Regions from separate parts of the Homo sapiens genome. Here regions 2 and 3 are each linked to region 1. Evidence: promoter capture Hi-C in human tissues and cell types (Jung and others, 2019). All regions are on one chromosome and are shown on one strand. Each heading gives the region's core, a stretch centred on a gene start or on the middle of the fragment in contact. The rest is flanking DNA. Distances are from core to core; before and after follow the strand shown. Region 1 holds the start of MRPL46 (mitochondrial ribosomal protein L46). Region 2 overlaps LOC105370960 (a long non-coding RNA gene). Region 3 has its middle 53 kb from the start of ACAN.

What was found. Contacts are between HindIII fragments. The study calls those that stand out against the background at their distance.
Region 2: a contact is called between a fragment that was not itself captured here and the fragment with the promoter of MRPL46 in region 1, in 2 of the 25 tissues and cell types used here (H1 embryonic stem cells and IMR-90 fibroblasts).
Region 3: a fragment that was not itself captured here is called in contact with the fragment with the promoter of MRPL46 in region 1 in 2 of the 25 tissues and cell types used here (mesendoderm cells and neural progenitor cells).

What each region holds. Positions count from the first base shown.
Region 1 is chr15:88,465,961-88,468,843 of GRCh38, reverse strand. It overlaps MRPL46 (mitochondrial ribosomal protein L46), which reads left to right and starts at 1,456. Exons shown (of 4, transcript NM_022163.4): 1 at 1,456-1,694. The coding sequence starts at 1,467. It overlaps MRPS11 (mitochondrial ribosomal protein S11), which reads right to left and starts at 1,136. Exons shown (of 6, transcript NM_022839.5): 1 at 1,062-1,136; 2 at 820-936. The coding sequence starts at 1,126. RefSeq lists enhancers at 1,286-1,455, 1,922-2,883. The HindIII fragment of the contact is 11,540 bases long and covers 1-2,883 here.
Region 2 is chr15:88,796,183-88,799,065 of GRCh38, reverse strand. It overlaps LOC105370960 (a long non-coding RNA gene), which reads left to right. Exons shown (of 3, transcript XR_001751648.1): 2 at 262-410; 3 at 1,162-2,604. Among named protein-coding and RNA genes, the nearest start is that of ACAN, 5.8 kb to the left of the region's middle. The HindIII fragment of the contact is 7,841 bases long and covers 1-2,883 here.
Region 3 is chr15:88,749,228-88,752,110 of GRCh38, reverse strand. No RefSeq gene overlaps it. Among named protein-coding and RNA genes, the nearest start is that of ACAN, 53 kb to the left of the region's middle. The HindIII fragment of the contact is 5,029 bases long and covers 1-2,883 here.

The DNA of each region.
Region 1 (2,883 bases), core at 207-2,706:
GAGACGGGGTTTCGCCATGTTGGCCAGGCTGGTCTCGATCTCCTGACCTCAAGTAATTCGCCCACCTTGGCCGCCTAAAGTGCTGGGATTAAAGGCATGAGCTACTGCACCCGGCCAGGAGTTAGACACTTATGATTTCATACTTCCAACCAATGCTTACCTCCATTATATTATTGAGCAGATTATGGTTAAAATGTTTGCATGTTTGTCTTCCCTCAAAGACTGTGAACTACTTGTGGGGAGGAATGATCTTTTGTATCTGTATTCACGGCACCTAGCATGGTGTCTCACTCATAGTAGATTCTTGGTAAATGTTTGTTAAATGGATGTGAAGTTAAGTGGATGTGTATACAGCATACAGAGGTGGTGGCACTGGTGGGAAGCAAGATGCCAGTTCCTAGGGCTGAGCACAAAACCCACCCTGGACCATCCGTAAGACGTGCAGGAACATCTGTTCCATCGCTAGCGCCCTCTACCTCCCCATTTTGTTTTGGAGGCAGGGAAGGTTATTGGTCTGAAAAGATCTCCATCTCAGAAGAAAAGAACGCTGATACATGTTATGGATATCTCACATTCACTCATTGATTTAACGAATGTTCACTGAACATTTACTCTGTACCACGGCTCATCTGATTCTCACAACCTCTCTCAGCATTATCCGCATTTTTAGATGAGAAGGCTGAGGCTCAGATTTATTTGCATAAGGTCCCACGGATAGCAAGTGACATAGCTGAAAATTCACTGGTTCTGACTCTGGAGGGTGTCGGGCAAGAGTCAGGGGTTGCGGGTCTCCAGAGGGCTGGTCCAAGTGGGGCTCACCTGAACTTGGTGTGGCTGGGAGCCGCGTTCTGTTCAACTTTCTGCTTGGCCGCAGCGTCTTGGAGCTGTCGAGCGCCTGTGCAGATGGTCCCGGCCGGCGTTCTGGCCACGACCCTGCTGGGAAGAAAAGCTCGGTGAGGGCCACGGCCTAACGGTCACTGGGGCCCGGGTGGCTCAAGGGACACGAGTAGGAGCATAGTCCTGGAGGTGGCGGTGGGCTCGAGGGGGCAGTCATTTGTTACCCGGCTGTCTGGGGCCAAGTCCAGGACCGCAGGAACCGCGACCCCGCGTTTCTCACAGCCTGCATGACTTGAATTGACCCCAGTCAGTTTCCGTCTGCAGCGACAGTCACAGCTGCGCCGGCGCCGGTACCATGAGTGCCTGTCGGGGAGGGGACAGAAGGGAAAGTCATCTACTCTTCATTAGGTCCACTGAATATTTTTATTTCCATTTAAATGCTCAATAAGACTTTCACTGTAGTTCACCAGGGGATTCTTTCCCTTTTTTAATGTTCTGAGATGGTGGGTCACCCCCTCCATATGCGAATGGTTCGTTCTAGCAGTTCCGGGACTGAGCTTTCCCCTAGTTTGCCGCTCCCGCGGCTGAGGGATCCCTGGGAGCCGCGGTGCATTGTGGGAGAACGAAAGATGGCGGCGCCCGTAAGGCGGACGCTGTTAGGGGTGGCGGGGGGTTGGCGGCGGTTCGAGAGGCTCTGGGCCGGCAGTCTAAGCTCTCGCAGCCTGGCTCTTGCAGCCGCACCCTCAAGCAACGGATCCCCATGGCGCTTGTTGGGCGCGTTGTGCCTGCAGCGGCCACCTGTAGTCTCCAAGCCGTTGACCCCATTGCAGGAAGAGATGGCGTCTCTACTGCAGCAGGTGGGACTGAGATGCAGGGTTCAGAGTGACGTTTATTCTGCGTGACTTTGAGCGAGTAATTTCACCTCTCTGAACTTAAGTATACGGTACTTATCCGCAGAATGGTACCTACCTTACTGACTTGGTTTGGTACATAGATGTTCAACAAAAAGTGGTTTCTTTTCATTGGCCGTGTTTATTGTCACCTTAGACAACTCTTTGGAGATACTCTACTTCTTGTTCATGCAACACAATAGGGATCCTGTGGTGAACAAGAATCGGTCCGTGTCACTAGGAGCTTACAAGTCTGGAGGGAGAAAGTCTTTGTGATGTGATGAATGTTAAGAAGGAAATACAAGAGGCGGTGGGCACATCTGTCAGATGCCTATGATAAGCCTACTCTGTTTTATCTCATGGGGCTATCTGTGTGAGGGGCAAGTGAGGAAGCATGGGCAAAAACAGTGTAGTGGCTGTGAAGGTGTGAGGTCGCTACAGAAAGTGTTTGAAGGGTGATATGTTTCCTCAGAATCCGAGATGTTTTTGTCTTGGTCTGTTGAGAACTATAAACTTCTCTTCTGTGCTTTTTGCTTGATTTATTCATTTACTCGCTCGCTTGACAAATATTTGTTACTCAACCTACAGATGTTCATTGTGCCCATACTATGCATCAGAGAGTATGTTAAGTGATAGAGATGCTGTAATGAATAAGGCAGAAGTAGCTCTGGTTCTCAGAGTACTTCAGTCTAGTTGAGTGAGGGGATCAGTCAGTAACCAAATAATCATACAACTAAATGCAGACCCTGATAAGTGTTGTTAAGGAAAACACAAGGCACTATAAGAGTGTTTAACAAATACATCACATTTTGATTTTATGGTGAGTGTCAAGGAATGCCTCAGACTTTCTGAATACAGGTTTTTCTCTTTATGAGAAATGTCTCTCTGAGACAGTCATATTTAAATTGAAATCAGAAAGATGAGTAGGACTCTCCCAGAAGAAAGAATGTGAGGAAAAACATTCTAGGAAGAAGGAACAACCTCTTGAAAGTCCCTGAACAGGAAAGTCCTTGGTGAGTGAGATTCTGATCAAAGACTGACATGACTGGATTGTGGTGAGTCAGCAGGCATTGCCCAACCCAGCTCTCTGTTTTTGTAGCACTCTTGACCCCCAGTGACATTGTAACATTTTTGGCAAATGTAACTCAAGCCCAAA
Region 2 (2,883 bases), core at 149-2,648, 330 kb before region 1:
GGGTCTTTGACTGTTTCCCAAGGGAGTGTTCTTCTGGAGTTTGCTTCTGGATTCCTCACTCTCTGCGAACCTTGTTTGTGGATGCCCCTCAAAAATGCAATGCCCGGCATTAGATGCACAAGCCCAGGTGTGGACTGATTAGAGGGGAGCCAGGACAACTCTTTTCTCTAACCATTTGGATATTCTGCTCCTACCGGTATGGCCAAACATCGTTGAGTTTCAGAACTACATCTCACTGTTGCTTGATATTTAATCTTGCAGGCAATTAAAATGAAGACTGTTTCCATGCGGGCCCCCGTGAAAGGGATTCCTGTGTATCTCAAGCAACAAAGAGAGCTGTGGAGCAAGGAGATTCCCTGTGTAATCGGGAGCACTGGATGTGAATCCCAGGTCTGGCATGGGAACCTTGGGTGAGTTTCTTAACCTCTCTGGATTTTGGTTTCACATCTGTAAAATGGAGCTATCTTATGGAATTGTTGTGAGAATTAAAATAAGATATGGAATGTCAGCCCCTAGTAACTGATCTGGCTCAAAGTGCAAGGATGGTTAATTTTCTTCCTTCCCCCTAGCCCCCACAATTTGGTGTGCCTGAGTAAGTACATTCTCTCCTGTGTGCTGTTTTCTGTGTTTGTAAAAGAAGCTAAAAATACCCACCTCATAGGAGTGTGGCAACAATGAATACTATATGTAATATGTGTAGAGAACGTTGTGATCCTTTTTGGAAGCAAAGGGCCATAGAAACATGATATAGAAAAGCCTTCTTATAGCAGAACTGGGCCAGGGAGTGGAGTCTAGTGAGAACTAGTGGAACACTTGAAAAGTGCTGTTTTATTACTTTAACACTGTACTAGTGGCAAAGTAGGAGGGAAATGTTATAATAAAGAACATGGAGACAGTTAATGAAACACTCACAAGCCTCCACGGGTCTGTGTGGAATAATGACATACAGTAACGGGAAAGTGCTGTGTCACCAAAGACATAGAAATTGAAGGGCACGTTTAAGGAAACTCTCTTAAAGCTTCAGTTTCAATTTTTTTTTTCTGAATTCATAGCAGATTCTTATTTTTAGTAAAACCCTACCATTTATAAAAGAGGAAATTATGGCAAGCATTTTATTCATTACTCACTAGTGTTTTTTTTTTTATCATTGAGAATACTCAGTGAGTGATGCTGAGTGGAATGTTACGTATCACCATCATCATCAGCATCCATCCCACCACCATCATCACAACCACCACCACCACCATCATCATCATCATCATCATCAACAGCTTTTTCCAAGCAAGTCTGGAATAAGAAGAGAAGTCGGAGGATTTAGGCTTTGTACTTCCTGGCAGCCCCAGCCCCTGAGGCTCATGCGATCCTGCTCACCTTCTCTCCCTGACCCCGAACCCTAAGGGGCTCCCGCACTCCAGATCGTAGCTGGCTCTTCTCTATTCTTTTCCTTATTCCAGCCATTAGAGTCTTTTGGGACTGGCTTCTCAACCTTTGTCACATTGGGCTTGATATTTTTAGTTTCTTTCAGTGGTAAATATTAGATTATTCAGAAAAATTGTTGTCCCAGATTTCCACACATGATGGTATAGATACAGAATATACACTTATAAAATAAGCAGAAATGATATCTCATGAACATTTGCTAGAATTGAAATAGAAGAGGTGCAGGCAGCATCCCCATAGCTTAAAAATGATCTGCTAAGATGTGGGCATGACTTTTCCCCACAAAACTTGCCACTCATTTGATATTATAGTGCGGGGGAATAGTCTTCCTGACATTTTAGTGGTTGTTATTGCTGTATTTTTTTTTTAGGGCATATTTTTTTAAGGGGAGAAAATGAAGAATATGTAAGGAAAAAAATCAGTACTTAGCTGGGTTACCTTTTATTCTTAGGACATTTACTTGTTAGCATTACAGTCTTAAAATAGTCTTCTACCAAATACATTACCAACAGGCATTTCCAAAATGCTGAGAGTACTCTATCTAGTCTCAAATTCTCAAGTTCAAAAAAATGGAATGCCAGTTCCTCCATGGGCTGACACAGCCTCATTATTATGGCCATATTTATTTACTTATTTATTGTAGTAAAATATACATAATATAAAATTCATCATTTAAACCATTTTAAGCATACAGTTCAGTGCCTTTAAGTACATTCACATTGTTATATAATCATCACTACTATCCATCTTCAAAACTTTTTTTATCTTCTGCAATGAAAACTATGTACCCATTTAATAATAATTCCTAATTACCCCTACCCTCTGCCCGTAGCCACCACCATTCTACTTTGTGTCTCTATGAATTTAACTACTGTCAGTACCTTATGTAAGTGGATTAGCGCCAAATTTGTCTTTTTGCGATTGGCTTAGTCACTTAGCATCATGTCTTCCAGGTTCAGTCATATTGCGGCATATGTCAGGATTTTCTTCCCTTTAGGGTAACACTTATTGAGCTCTTACTGCCTACCAGGCCTTGTGCTATGCGCTTCAACAGACCTCACAATCACCCTATGAGGTAGGGAGTCTCACTAACTCCATTTCACAGATGAAGAAACTGAAGACAGGAATGTTTAGAAAGCTGCCTGATATGGTTTAGCTCTGTGTCCCCACCCAAAACTCATGTTGAATTGTAATTCCCAGTGTTGGGGGAGGGACCTGGTGGAAGGTGATTGGATCGTGGGGGTGGATTTCCCCCTGGCTGTTCTCGTGATAGTGAGTGAGTTCTCACAAGATCTGATGGTTTAAAAGCGTGTAGCACCTCCCCCTGCACGCTCTCTCCTGATCTGCAATGGTCAGCTGTGCTTGCTTCCCCTTCGCCTTCCACTATGACTGTAAGTTTCCTGAGGCCTTCCCAGTCATGCTACCTGTAGAGCCTGCAGAACC
Region 3 (2,883 bases), core at 183-2,682, 280 kb before region 1:
ATCTATCTCTTTTTTTACCACAATTTCCTTTTTAGGACACCAGCCAAAAATAAGACATGTGAACTTCTTCAATGAAAGCATCACGTGTCTTTTATTTTCTTCCATAAAAAGCTCATGATTCTTTCTTAATAACAACATGTAGATGAAAGCTGAAATGTATGGTTTTTAAAAATAAAAGACCATTTCAGCTAGTGCAACTTAAGAAACAAAATATTGTATTATGTGGTCAACTTAGTCTTCCTTTTCTTTTTCTCTTTGTGACAAGGTCTTGCTCTGTCACCCAGGCTAGAGAGCAGTGGCATGATGGCTCACTGCAGCCTTAATCTCCTGGGCTCAATGATCCTCCTGCCTCAGCCTCCTGAGTAGCTTGGACCATAGGCATGGTCTCAGATTCCTGACCTCATGCAATCCTCCTGCCTTGGCCTCCTAAAGTGCTGGGATTACAAGTGTGAGCCACTGTGCCCAGCCTCAGTCTTCCTTTTCTTGTTTGTTCAGAGATAAAAAGGGAAAGCTGAGATGCATTTTCTACCTTATCAATTCTTAGGCAATTTATCATTTTGTAATTAATTAGAACAAAGATAAAATGCTATTTTAAAAATATATAGAAGATATTTCTACTCTAAAAGGATTTTGAAGGCTGCTTGCGACTAAAATTCATTGAATCTAGGTCAGGGTCACACACTCAAATGCCCACGGGGACTGTGCAAGAAAAACAACTGAGCAAGTTTGACATTAAATGACCTCTGGAACTCTTGGTATTAGAGGTGCAATAGGGAGTGCTGGAGACTGTGGAAAACTGGAAGGGATTAGCTGTGTCTAAAGGGGAAGTCACTTCTCAACTTCAACATAGCATTTTGTTTTGTTTTATTTTAGTAAGAGGCCAGAATTTTGTATTTTTATGTGAAGCCTCTTAATCCATAATTGTTGGTCTATAATTCAATAGTATGTGGGTCAAGAAAAACTAGTTTGGGGCAATGTTTGGTTCTCAGGTTGCCAGTCTGATATACCTTATCGGGTAGGAAAAGTTGAAGTAGAGTTTTGGCAGAAGGGGGCGAATGCACAGGGCATTCTGGAAGAATATCTGGAGGGCTTGTTAAGGGACAGGATGCAAAGGGAAGAAGAGCCTGAAGGCCTGGGAGGACTTAGGATTGTGGAGAGCTTGCTTTGGTGAAAGGTGTGTGTGTGTGTGTGTGTGTGTGTGTGTGTGTGTGTGTGTGTTTGTGTTGGGAGGGGATATGTAGACAGAGCAGGCAGGGAACCAGAGGAAAATGAGTTCAATTTTAACAAATTGCACTTGAGAGGTCATGACTGGGAGTATACAAGAGGAAAGAACAAGGAGGATGTAATTAACCTTGAACTCAATATGTGCCTACAGCATTACGGAGCTGCATGTGATACATGATCAGATTCGGTATCTGCATTATCAAGGAGGCATTTGTCTGTACTCGGTCTTGCTCTCTGCACTCATCAGTGGATTGTGTTCTATTCTGGATATTACTTTTAAAAAATGCTCTTTTCTCTTAAATTACAGAAGCAATATGTGTATCATTGCAGAAAATTAAGAAAATGCTGAAAATTGAAAGAAGGAAAATTGCCTGTAATCCTAGCTCCTATAATAACTATTGATGGCTTCCTATATATCCTTCTAGTCTTTTTTCCTATACATATATACTTAAATACTTCATAAAATTGGAATCATATTATAAATACTACATTACAATCTGCTTTTTCCACTAACATGTCTTGGACATTTTCCCATATCAATAAAATAAAATAATCTGCCACAACTTGATTTTTCATGGTTATTTTAGCATTTATTCCATTTGATGGAAATATCAAAATTTATACCTAATAGGCTACTGTTGGACACATGCTGCTTCTCCATCATAAACGAAGTCATCTCTAATGCTAAATCTTTGCACATATGCTTGGTTATTTTCTTAGGATAAACTCCTAGAAAAGACAATTGTTAGGGATATCAAAGGAAGAAGGCAATAGTGAAAACTTGAAACAAAAAGCAGGATTTACTGTTTGTAAAGTAAGAGAAAATTGTGCTTTGAGACAGTCTTTCTGAACAAAGTTTGGAGGAAGCACGGAATTCAAGGATTAATAGAATTTCAAGAGTGAGAATTAAGGGATTGGCTGACCTTAAATTGAGGAGGTGTGGTTATTAGAGTGCAGCTATTGCTGATTGGATGGCAGAAGCATATAGCTATCTTTGATTGGCTGACTTTCAGAATCATGTGCCATTTATGATTGGCTGATTCAGGAGCATGGATTTCAGTGAGACTGAAGACAAGGTAGCACGTCAGGTTTTAAATCCTTTGTGCTGCTTAGTTGTTACTATGGCTGGAGAACAAATAGCCTTTTCTTAGAAAAGAGGGACTTTTAATTTTCAAGTCAAAGGGCAATATTGCCAAACTGTTGGCACAATATTTGAAGCAATATGTGCACAGACTAAAAGCCTCTGGAAGAGATTGATACTGGTGGGAAGACTGGAGGCCTTGCTATAGGAGGGAAAGTGTGAGGAAGGTGATGGTGACTAGCTTGGAGTAGAGAAGACCAGGGCAGGCATGATCACTGACTACAAAGCCTATCACTACGCAAAGGCACACTGGGCTCTTTTCTTTTCTTGACAGAATCTCGCTCTGTCGCCCAGGCTAGAGTGCAATGGTGCGATCTCTGCTCACTGCAGCTTCCGCTTCCCAGGTTCAAACCATTCTCCTATCTCAGCCTCCCAAGTAGCTGGGATTACAGGCGTGCACCACCATGCATGGCTAATTTTTTGTATTTTTAGTAAAGACGGGGGTTTCACCATGTTGGTCAGGCTGGTCTTGAACTCCTGACCTCAAATGATCTGCCTGCCTTGGCCTCCCAAAGTGC